2 separate regions of the Homo sapiens genome follow, and region 2 is linked to region 1. Evidence: promoter capture Hi-C in 16 types of primary human blood cells and fetal thymus (Javierre and others, 2016). All regions are on one chromosome and are shown on one strand. Each heading gives the region's core, a stretch centred on a gene start or on the middle of the fragment in contact. The rest is flanking DNA. Distances are from core to core; before and after follow the strand shown.

What was found. The method cuts DNA at HindIII sites, captures the fragments that hold promoters and counts their contacts. A CHiCAGO score of 5 or more calls a contact.
Region 2: a fragment that was not itself captured here is called in contact with the fragment with the promoter of GLRX2 in region 1 in 6 of 17 cell types (activated CD4 T cells, total CD4 T cells, naive CD8 T cells and 3 more); the score reaches 11.0 in activated CD4 T cells.

The regions. Positions count from the first base shown.
Region 1 is chr1:193,101,454-193,107,706 of GRCh38, reverse strand. It overlaps GLRX2 (glutaredoxin 2), which reads left to right and starts at 2,293. Exons shown (of 4, transcript NM_197962.3): 1 at 2,293-2,443. The coding sequence starts at 2,325. RefSeq lists silencers at 2,115-2,354, 2,134-2,428, 2,405-2,504. The HindIII fragment of the contact is 5,966 bases long and covers 1-3,807 here.
Region 2 is chr1:194,287,066-194,292,725 of GRCh38, reverse strand. The region is part of intron 2 of LOC107985242 (a long non-coding RNA gene); the gene reads left to right. LOC105371670 (a long non-coding RNA gene) reads left to right here. Exons shown (of 3, transcript XR_922390.2): 2 at 298-373; 3 at 1,346-1,487. Among named protein-coding and RNA genes, the nearest start is that of LINC01031, 990 kb to the right of the region's middle. RefSeq lists a silencer at 2,960-3,160. The HindIII fragment of the contact is 5,907 bases long and covers 334-5,660 here.

The DNA.
Region 1 (6,253 bases), core at 1,044-3,543:
TCTCAACTCACTGCAACCTCTGCCTCCCAGGTTCAAGCGATTCTCCTGCCTCAGCCTCCCGAGTAGCTGGGATTACAGGCGCGTGCTACCATGCTCGGCTAATTTTTGTATTTTCAGTTGAGATGGGGTTTCATCATATTGGCCAGGCTGGTCTTGAACTCCTGACCTCAGTTGATCCACCCATCTCAGCTTCCCAAAGTGCTGGGATTACAGGCGTGAGCCACCGCACCTGGCCCCATTTTCTTTCTTGTGTGCAAGTGTGAGAACACAAGATCTACCCTCTTAGCAAATTTCAAGCATACATTGCGATTTTCCTAACTATAGTCACATTGCTGTACTTTAGCTCTCTAGAACTTACCTATCTCGCATAATTGAAACTCTGTACCCTTTGACCAACATCTCCCCATTTCCACCTTCTCCCAGGCCCTGGCAACCACCGTTCTACTGTCTGCTGACATATTTCTTAACTTGCTATTGCAGTCATCACAACTATGACCAAAAATAATAATCACTTCTGTAGCTACCCCACGAAGCACAAAGAAGTTGAAAATTATCAATATATTTATTAATATATTATGCTGAATTCAGGCATAACACTTTCTTCTGAAGTACTTTACATTCTGAAATCCTTAAAAAAATCTGTCCAGTGAATTCTGTGCTTGATAATAGTCCATCTATGCTGTATTAAAATTAAATTGTAACATGATCGGTTCACCTCATAATGATCTTTATTTCATAAAACAATTTGAGATGAGGTAAAATTTGACTTCAAAACTAACATAACACCATAAATTTCCAAAATAGTTTTATAAAAAAATTAAAAAGCCCACAACACTATAGATAGATAACATACCTTAATTTTTATTTTATTTTATTTATTTATTTTTTTATGAGACGGAGTTTTGCTCTTGTTGCCCAGGCTGGAGTGCAATCGTGTGATCTTGGCTCACTGCAAACTCTGCCTCATGGATTCAAGCGATTCTCCTGCCTCAGCCTCCCGAGTAGCTGGGATTACGGGCATGCGCCACCACGCCCGGCTAATTTTGTATTTTTAGTAGAGACGGCGTTTCACCAATATTGGAGGGGCTGGTCTTGAACCCCCAACCTCAGGTGACCCGCCCGCCTCGGCTTCCTAAAGTGCTGGGATTACAGGACTGGCCACTGCGGGAGCTGCGGCAGCTGCGGCCTCTGGGTACGGGGTCAGCGGGCAGTCCTGTAATGGCCACATTACAGGACAGGCCATCGCGCCTGGCCACATGCCTTAATTTTCAAAGTCAAATTTGTCTTTAAAAAGAATGAATTCCTACCCTTTGGGGGTATTTATTTTTGCAACTAACTTCCATCCTTTTATTAAGTAATCAAACATAGCCCATTTGAATGTTGGAAAAGAACTGTCAGAAATACAAGTTCTTATTTTGTACTTTGGTAACATGAATTTTACACTTAGTTGAACATGAAGAATCAAAAAAGCTCTGGATTGTTGTAATAATTGTTTAGAATTTTAGATGTACCATTTGACCTTTGACTTTAAGATGAATTTCAGTGTCCTCAGTAAATAAAGGCTTACCCCCAACCTTAAATAGTGACGCACAAAGGCTATTATTACCACCACTGAGTGGCTTAAATAATCCTGTCAACAGCAATCGCCCATTTCCAAAGCCATGGTGAAACATCTCTGTGCTAATTTCTTTTGTTTTGTTTCCTAATTTTTTTTTTTTGGCAGGTGGTGGGAAATAATCTTTGTCTTCTTTGGAGTAAACCTTCAACACCGGATTTTTTCTTTTAATTATGGATGTAAACCCCAATATCCCCATAATTTACATTGGGTCTCGACCAATTGCCTAATTATAAGAGGATATATTTAGGCTCTTATTTCATCCACACAAAAACTTGTGTAACAGGTAGTTGGAAACATCTGAGGCACCACTTTGATTCTGTTTTGGATGGTCATGTTTTTTCTCCTCCGTTTCCCCAGCATGTCTGCCACCATCCTCATGCACTGCTTCCAAGTGCCTGGGAGCCTTTATGAGCGTCCCTAAACCTAAAAGAATCCAGAGGCGGGGCTCGGATGAACCCTCGAGATAAGCAAGTGAGCCGCTTCTCCCCTCTAAAGGATGTTTACACGTGGGTGGCACTCGCTGGAATCCAGCGCTCGGGCAGCCCTGGGAGGACGCGCTCAGCTGCGAGGAGGTGACCGGCGGCGGCGCGGGCAGTCCGGAGGGGCGGGACGGGGCGGGGCAAGGCGGGGGCCGGGCCGGAGGAGGCGGGCTCCCGGGATCCGCGGTGTCCGGCAGTAGAGCTCGCTGCAGATCCGGGCTCTGACCATGATTTGGCGCCGCGCGGCGCTGGCGGGGACGCGGCTGGTTTGGAGCAGGAGCGGCTCGGCAGGCTGGCTTGACAGGGCGGCGGGAGCTGCGGGAGCTGCGGCAGCTGCGGCCTCTGGGTACGGGGTCAGCGGGCAGGAGTGCCGCGGCGTGGTGCGCAGGCCTTGCGGGGGTCTGGAGAAAGCGGTGGGCGGAGGTGCCCCTTTGCCCCGGCGCCGGGTGGGCGAGGCGTACTAGCGCGTGGGCTCTGAGTCATAACACGCAGAGGCGCTCGAGGGATGGGCAGGGAAGGGTGCCCTCCGCGGCTGTGCTGACTTCAGGAGCCTGTGACTCTCGCGTTGAAAATACTTCACTCATGTTCACTTAGGCCATCCCTCTGTGAATTGCTACATAAAATACAAGACGCCGCAATCAATTGGAATTTCTCTGAAAGAGCGAATGATTCTTAGTCCAAGTGTGTCCCAAATACTGCAGTGGACATAGGAAAAACGGAACAGTTTTCTGGTGTTTGGTTACAATTCTAATTTGACCGGGCGTCCTGCATTCTTGTTTGCTAAACTTAGCCACCCTACTGCAGGAAGTGAAGGCGATGATTCCCGCTGAATGGCCAGAGCTTTTAGGATAGAGGCTGACTGATGGTGATGCCGCCTGCGGCTAGACCGAGGATAGTGCTTTCCTTACACTTCCTCGTTTGGAATATCAGCGGCTTCGGGACCTGCAGTGGAAGGGAACTGCGGCTGTGCTGCCCACGCCCGCGCGGCTGGTGCCTGGCGGTCCTGCCGGCTCGCACTTCCGCGCCTGCCACTGCGCACTTGGCCGGAGAGTCTGTCTCGCTATCTACTTGATCTGGGAGCTTCTATCAGTTTTGCAAGATTCTAGGAATCTCAAGTTTAACTTTCCAGACCAAGCTAGAGACCCCTCCTGAAGGGCTAATCACAGGCTGTTAAGTGTTTGACAGCTCTTTGAGGCCCCGCCGTGTTTTTTTCTGCGTATCCCTGGGGTCAATATAGCACTTTGCCTACTTAGCACACAGTAGGCGCTCCATAAATGTGGCATGACTAGGTGCTTCATCTGTGTTGAAATGAAATGTTTATTGTGCACTTACTTCCTCCGTGCATGTTTCTATTCATAGTTCGCGACAGTTTTTACCAAGGTCAACTAGAAATTGAAGGGAAAGGGTGTCTTCCAGAAACTTTTATTTGGGTAATATTTCAGAATGCACCTCCTACCTCCTCTCACTACCCAAGAAAACATTCTCTTGTGTTCTATTGGAGCTCCTTCAGTAGTAAATGCTGTAGTAGATGGTTTGGGTATGACAGTTTAAGTGCTGGACCTGAGATGAAAGGACTTGCTTTCTTAGTTGATAAACCAAATACAGCTTGCTGATTTATTCCACCAATGCTCTTCCTTAGGGCTAGGCCAGTGCTGCCTAACCTTTTCTGGTTTAGGCTTCAGGAACTCAACTTTCTTTTATCTTAAAGCTTCACCCTCCTCTCAGGTTGGCTGCAGTCTCCCTAGCTCGCTACCCTTAACTCCTTCCTGAGTTAAGCGCACAGGACTTTTTTTTTTGTTTTAAAGTGTTCCTTGCTAATACTATTAGGAAGCAAGGAATAATAGATTGTAAACATTGGGTAGGTTATAATGTTATAATGTTTAATTCCTGTCTCTTACTCTTCTTTGTTATAACTGAACAAACTGATGTTTGCTGTAGCTTCCTCACTCTAGGTGAGCTGATATCATAATCGTTCCCCCTTATCCGTGGTGGACACGTTCCAAGACCCTCGGTGGATGCCTAAAACCTCGGATAGTACTGAACCCTATACATGCTATTTTCCTATACATACTTGCCTATGATAAAGTTTAATTTATAAATTAGGCAGAGTAAGAGATTAACAACAATAATAAAAGAACAATCACTTTAATAACAAAATGCTCATTTCAAGGAATCCCTTGCTGAATCTTCTCATAGGCCCAGTGCTTTTTGGCATAACACATTGCTGTCAGTTGGAACACTTTTTCTGTTCTTGTCTCCACAAATTTAATACCTTTTCTGGCTTAACTAAGCACTTATACCTTGTGGCTGTAACTTGCAGTTTGAGGTGTGACATCAAAACTGCCATGAATTTTTTACTTCTTTACAACTGCACTGATAGAAGATCCGTTCTTACCATAGACCTTAGCAACCTCAGCGTGTGATTTTTTTTTTCCTATTAGGTGGAGAACTTTCACCGTTTCACTTAAAGGAAGCACTTTAGGGCTTCTCTTTGACGTACCTGAATTGCCAGCATCACTACTCTAGTGGTTTGGAGCCATTATTATTATTATTATTTAAGACGGAGTTTCACTCTTGTTGGAGCCATTATTAAGTAAAATAAGGGTTACTTGAACACAAGCATCACCACACTGTGACAGTCGATCTGGTCACCAAGACAGCTGTTGACTAAAGCGTGGGGAGCTTATACAGAGTCCATATGCTGGACAAAGGGAGGATTCATACCCTGGGTAGGAGGAAGCTAGATGGCTCAAGATTTCATCATGCTACTTAAAACTTACGAACTATTTTCTTCTGAAATTTTCCATGTAATGTTTTTGGACCACAGCTGACCTTGGATAACTGAAACCGTGGATAAAGGGGGACTACTGTGTAGGGCAGATGTTCATTATCCAAGGATAAGATGTACTGGAAAAAGCTATTAGAGTGGATTCACTTAAAATAAGACTAGTATTTCAGGCCAGGCGCGGTGGCTTACACCTGTAATCCCAGCACTTTGGGAGGCCGAGGTAGGTTGATCATATGAGGTCAGGAGTTCGAGACCAGCATGGTCAACATGGTGAAACCCCATCTCTACTAAAAATACAAAAAATTAGCCAGGTGTGGTGGTACATACCTGTAGTGTCAGTGACTCGGGAGTCTGAGGCAGGAGAATTGTTTGAACCTGGGAAGCGGAGATTGCAGTGAGCCAAGATCACGCCACTGCACTCCAGGCTCGGTGACAGAGCAAGACTCCATCTCAAAAAGAAGACTAATATTTCATGCTATCCAGTTTAAAAAATTCTGCTTGGGACTATTGCAAAAATTAAACAAAACATAAAAAGTAGCTTTATGTTTACATTTAAGAACATTTAAATTTTAAATGCACCCCCAATGAATGAATACAGTATTGATTTGAAGGCAGAATATTTGAGTTTTATAACATAATCACAAGGATAATAGTTTTTTAAATATTTGAAGTTTCAAAAATTCTCTTATTCTTTAGATATTCGAGTAATTCTCTTTTGAAACATCTATTATATGTCATAATCCTCTTGTAAGATTTGTAATTTTACTCTGCAGTTAGTTTGCATCATGGTGTTTGATATTGTTCCAACAGTGCGGTAGGGCCTGGTTGACCAAGAAAGATGAGTGGATGGGGAAGAAAAGGTTCCAGGGATAAAAAGATTTGATGATGATAAACTGGTTGAGTTTTTTTTTTTAGTGATAATTTTCCTGACAATGAATGCTTCCTTTTACAAGCTCCCAATAGCTAGGTTTTGGATAATAAATACTGAGATAATGAGAGGTCCTGTATTCAGGAACTAATAGTAGTAATGTTAAACATTATTGAGCATTTACTATGTGGAAGGCACTTATCTGCTTTCTGCGTATGAATTCATTTAATCTTCACAAAATCCTTTGAGACGTGCCAGTGATTATTGTTTCCACTTTGCAGACTAGGAAATTTGGAGCTATGGCCCATTGCGGTTGAGATACTGTAGCTTCCTCAAAAATCTTTGAAGATTCCCTGCTTCACAGTGTGTTCATAGAGTTTTGGCATGTTTTACTAAGAAAATAGAAACTATATTTTTAAACCAATGGTCAGGTCATATGGCATAGGATGGAATATTTGAAATTTGCCAGTTATAAATAAGAGTGTGTCAAGCTTTAAACA
Region 2 (5,660 bases), core at 2,038-4,537, 1.2 Mb before region 1:
TTCGTATATCTAGTCATTACCAGAATATTTCTGACTGTATTCACATATACTTTCACATTATATGTCCTTAAGTGTTTCTTTGTACAATTTATTTTTAGCCATATTACTGCAGCAGAATTGCAAAGCCTCAAAATTTGTATAAGCAGTAATAATTCTTATTTTTATATAATTATTTTTATAAGTTAAATGAAACACCTATCCTATATGTAGATTAAAAGATTAAATAATAGCCCTTACAATAATATTAATTATTTACTTACAGTTAGTGATTGATAATATTACTTGTATATATTCCAGACTTACAGAACATTTTTCCTGAGAGATGATCAAGCTTCCATGGGTTGTTTTCAGTCCTGGATTTATAATTCCAGAGGTATAGAAAATATTGTTGAATGTTATTATTTACTTCAGAATTTAACAGTAAATACACGTTTTAGAGAGTGAAGCGTAATTAAGTAAATTCCCTAGATGATGTCAAAAATATTAATAGTCCATGTATGTTTAATTATATGAATGCAAGTTCTGTTATTTGTGTGAGAAAATTAAAACAAATGTTACAAGCAGAAAATTGCTTATAGAGTGTCATCAATTAAGGCTGACATTTGTCTCTATCATAAGACTATAATTTATGTTTTTATACTTTATATTCAGTATTAACAATAAAACCTATTTGCATATGACTATAATTAAACTAGCATTTATCTTTAAATTTTTTATAAGCATTTAAAAGATGTTACATGTTTTTATCCACTTGTACCATTCAAGTAAATAACTATAGATTAGGCTTAGATCAGCTTGTTACCCAATAACAGAATTTGTTGGCTTTCATGTTTTATGGAAAACTGACTGCTGTTCAGACTATTGACACTAAACTGTAGGGAGTATTTTCACTGACTATACCCTGGTGTTAATATAATCTATAACTTTCAGTAAAAATATTAATGTTTTTAGAATTTTAGATACCAGGGTGTTTCAATCCATCATTTGTATTCCTTTTTATGAGATAAATGAATCCAAATTTCAGTGTACAATACCTGCTGTAAAATGTTTATATCAAATGTAAAATATAGACAGCAGTAAAATATGGGATGTGAAAGATTTAGTAATTTTTTTATTTCTTGTCAAACAGTAGGATAATATTTAGAGATAAGAGGCAAAATTTATCCTGAGTAAGGGAAAGTTATTCTGCCTTTTAAAATGTTCGTAAGCCTATCCAAGGTTTCAGTATTTTTGTGTGTTTTTTATTATTAGAGGAAAGTTAACAATTCCCTTTGATCTTAATGATGTTACATCATTGTAGCATGAAAGGAATAGTATAACCTCAACCAACTTTTTCTGTATTTAGTTTTCAGCAGTGCTGACAATTGTCTATGCCATGATAAAAAGAGAACGAAAATGTGTTGGAAGAGGCACCTGGGAGTGTAGTTGTCTCAGAGGGAACACCACATTTGTTCCTATGACACATTTTCATTGAAAGAAAAAAGAAAAAGAAGAAAGAAAAAGAAAGAAAGAGAGAAAGAAAGAAAGCAAGCAAGATAGCAATCAAGCAAGCAAGGAAGGAAGAAGAAAGCATCTTTTCTATTTCCCTTTCTTTTTATTTCTGTGTCTTTATTTCTCCTCTCTCTCTCTTCCACTTACTCCTCTCTTCCTCTCCCCTTCCTTCCCTCTCATCCTCGCCCCTTCTCTTCTTCTTTTTACCCCTACCCCCACCACCTTGTTTCTAGTCTTCCACAGTATTTTCTTACTAATACAAGGAGTGACTTAGTCCTGGTTAGAACAAATATCATAGAACGTCTTTACACTAAGCCTAGAGGTTTGCCTGTTGAAAGAAAACCACTAACTAAGTTTATCAAGGCATTGATCACCACCACCCCATTTACATGCTTTAATATTATATAGTATGCACCACATGACGTTAAAACATCAGGTTAAATTGCTTTTCTTTCAGAATAAACAGAGGCAAAAAGATGTAGTTATAATGTGTAGTAAAGTTTCTACATCTGCAGGATATACTCCTTTTTAAGACTTATTATTTTGATGATGGTGTACAATAAATCTCATTACTTGTGGGAGCCAAAAAGTTAACTGCTAATTCCATGGGTACCAAGGGGGCTGGACCCTATTACCAATTGTCTAGTACTAAGAATGACCTCATTATGTTATGATAAAAATTTTTAGCACATTCTAGACACTGAAAGACAGAGGTAAGTAAAGCCAGGTTAATCAAAATAGGGATCTTATAGCCTAGTAGAAGAGGTAACCCATAGAAAACAGATTTTTATACAGTACACTAAGTGATGATATAATGGTATGTTTAGGTTGCCATCGTAAATGAGGTAAATTCAACTCATATCAGAGATCCAGGAAAGGAGTTTAAAGGAAATACTTAATATGAGTCTTTAATAATAAATACAAAATTTTAAAATAAAGAATGGAAAAAAGTCATTTTCCTTCAGCACACTGTCAGAACATCACAAAGATGTGAAAATAAATATTTCATGTAGGAAATTCTGGCTTGTTCTGTTGCAGAAGCCTTACTCCTTAGCTTAGCGAGGTCTGAGTTCTTGTCTCACCACCACGATGAATGAGGTACATGGACATAGGAGGGTGAGTATGGCAGAATAGACTTTATTAAGTGACAGAAAGCGCTCAGTAAGGAGAGGGGACTCAAAAGTGGGTTGCCCTAGGGGATTAAAAACCTCATTTCTAGGGGTGTGTTTCTCATTTGCATCTTGCACAACCTTTTACTTCCTAGTTGCTTCCTGGTCCCAGTTCTTACTGCCCAGGTGCGTTCTTGTCCATAGTTATTCCATCTTAATTATTATGCATAAGCACCACAGAAAGGCCCAGTGGGTAGTAGGGGTGGTGGTGGTGAAACCACAATGCAGATGTCATGCTAATGATATTATAATGAGCTTGAGTCAAGTTAAGGACATTTAGTTGATTTATTACACCTGCGCCTAAGTTGGGACAGTCCCTTCTGAGCAAACATTCTGGTATAAGAGGAAGTTCTTAACCACATTTCCATCTGCTAGCTGCATAACAGGGGCAATGCAGGTGCATTCCTGCATGCATTGTCTCTCTCATGAAGCCCTACATCTCCATCGTACCACTTGCATACATAAAAAAGGTAAGTGAGATTAAAGATACACTTGGATAGAAGCAGGTCACAAGGGCTCTTGTGTTTTGTTAGAAATATCAGCATTATTATAATTTGAAATATGTTGTAATGAGCATTTATATGACACTTCTATATTTCCCCAAGAACCAGCTGCATATTTTTAAATATTGTATGTTTAAGATTTTCAAGAGGCTTGTAAATTTTTTGAGTTTCATAATCTTTAACAATGCAAACCAAAATACTTAATCAGTTCTTACTTAGTCATTTATGAAGTTACCCATGGGAAAATTATGTTTACTGATATTTTAACCCTGTTTCTATCACTTACTTATTCATCCAACTTCCAAAACCAGTGTTCTTTGGCCCTTCTCCTCAGTTTGTTTTGTTAATAAAAGTTATAAATTTAAAAAATAATAATAATAGAAAAATACATCTGTAACAAGCCATTATTTTATGCTATTTCTCTTCTTCCCAAATTTGGACTAAAAAGGATTTAAATATAAATGTTTGTTTTAAGTTTTTTATTTTATTTTAGTTCAGGTATTGGTTTTTACTGGAGAGGTTAGAGAAAGTGATTTCAAAGGGCAAAATCAACTCAAAATTGTAAAAGGAGAAAATGGAAAAAAAAAAGCGATGATATTCATGACTGATTATCTCCTTCAAGAAAGGAGGGAGGAAATGAAATGTGCTCAGTCTTCTCTTGTAATCTCTTTTCCCAAAGTTACCTCTTGACATTTTTGGATGTTCTGTCACAAGAAAGTTGATCTTTCCATTTCTTTGGTTACTTAGCTTTTAATCTATCTGTTTGCATACATGCTAGAGAGCGATGAGTGATTTGTCGTCTACATAGAAGTGGAAATTTATAGTCTGAAAGAAAATAATAGTTTTCTTTTCTTTTATCTGTTTTATTATTTTCATTATTTGAAATTCTAGTAAGTAATATTCTTCCTTCAAAGTAGCTGTCACTTACAGCTTTCTTAACCTGAGTCTCAGAAAGAATTCAACAAAGCTGTATCTTTCTGTCTTTAAAATATTATTTCTTCCTGTTTCTATCAGTCACTTATGTCATAATAAATATTAAAACTGACAGGCAATATATTTTAAGTGCTACTGTAAAAGCATTGTTTTGCTATAAATAAACAAGCTCATTTCTCTAGGACTTAAATAGGAATACAGATTTGATACATTCTCTTCCCCTATTAAACATCTGTGGCAAGATGCCATTAGGGAGTTGTTAGATTTGCTGGAATTTTCCACTATGCCAGATATTAAATTACCTGTCATATGTGTTCTGAAGTATACAGAAGGTTGTAATCGTATAAGGATGCTGAATGTGCTGACATTTTCATTGCCCTGAATATAAGTAAACATAATTATTGGCTCTTCCTATAGGGTTTTAATTGATATGTTGACCAGTAGCCATGAGTGGGTTTGTGAAGACAACAGGATATAAAAATGGATGTCTTTACAAATCCACTGTCTTTTGTAAAGAAATGCATCATAGAGCAATTATAAAATAATTTGCATTATTTTATATCATTAAATTAATATCAGGGTATAGGTTATGAAAACTACATGATTCAAAATAGACACTATAAAAAAAGAATGCTGTTGGAGTGGGAAGAGGCCAAATGAGCAGCCACCATTTTGCACCTCTACTGTGGCATGGCCACGTTGCACAGTGCTCAGTCAGGAAATGCGATTTACACATCCAACTCCTAGCCTATTCTTCCCAATTACTATGATTTTCTTCCTGCTTTTGTCACTATTTCTGAGTTCCCATTTATCTAGTACACTGGGATTGGGTAACTGCAACTCTGGATACTTAATAATTAAAAAATTGCATTATTAGGAATGATATTCGACTTCCCACATAGATTCTTGTGTTTTTCTCAAGTCTTTTTTCATGTTCTGTATTGAAATCTATCCCCGTATAATCAACCTACTTTCCATGTTTCTGGGTCTCTGAATAAATTCCTTCTTGGATTTGTCTGTACATAATGGCATATTGTGGCTATTTTCCCATTCTCATATATTTTATGAGGAGAGGTCTTGCAATTCTCAAGGCAAATCAGGAATGATCTGCCATGTTTTAGTTCAAAAATTACTTCTGGATGAGCACAGTGGCTCCCATCTGTAATCCCAGCAGTTTGGGAGGCTGAGGTGGGAGTATCACTTGAGGCCAGGAGTTTGAGACTAGCCTGGGCAACATGGCAAGACCCTGTCTCCACAAAAATTTCAAAAAACCAAAAACTCAGCCAGATGCAGTGGTGCACACCTGTAGTACCAGCTACTCCAGAGGCTGAGGCCAGGAGAGTTAATTGAACCCAGGAGTCAGAAGTTGCAGTGAGCTACGATCATGCCACTGCACTTCAGACTGGGAAATAAAGCAAGACTGTATCTCAAAAAAAAAAAAAAAAAATTACTTCTGTCATTAAACTGGTACATAAATTCAATAATATGTAGGAATGAAAAACATCCTTAAAGTTGTAAGGATTGGTCCGGCACGGTGGCTCATGCTTGTAATCCCAGCATTTTG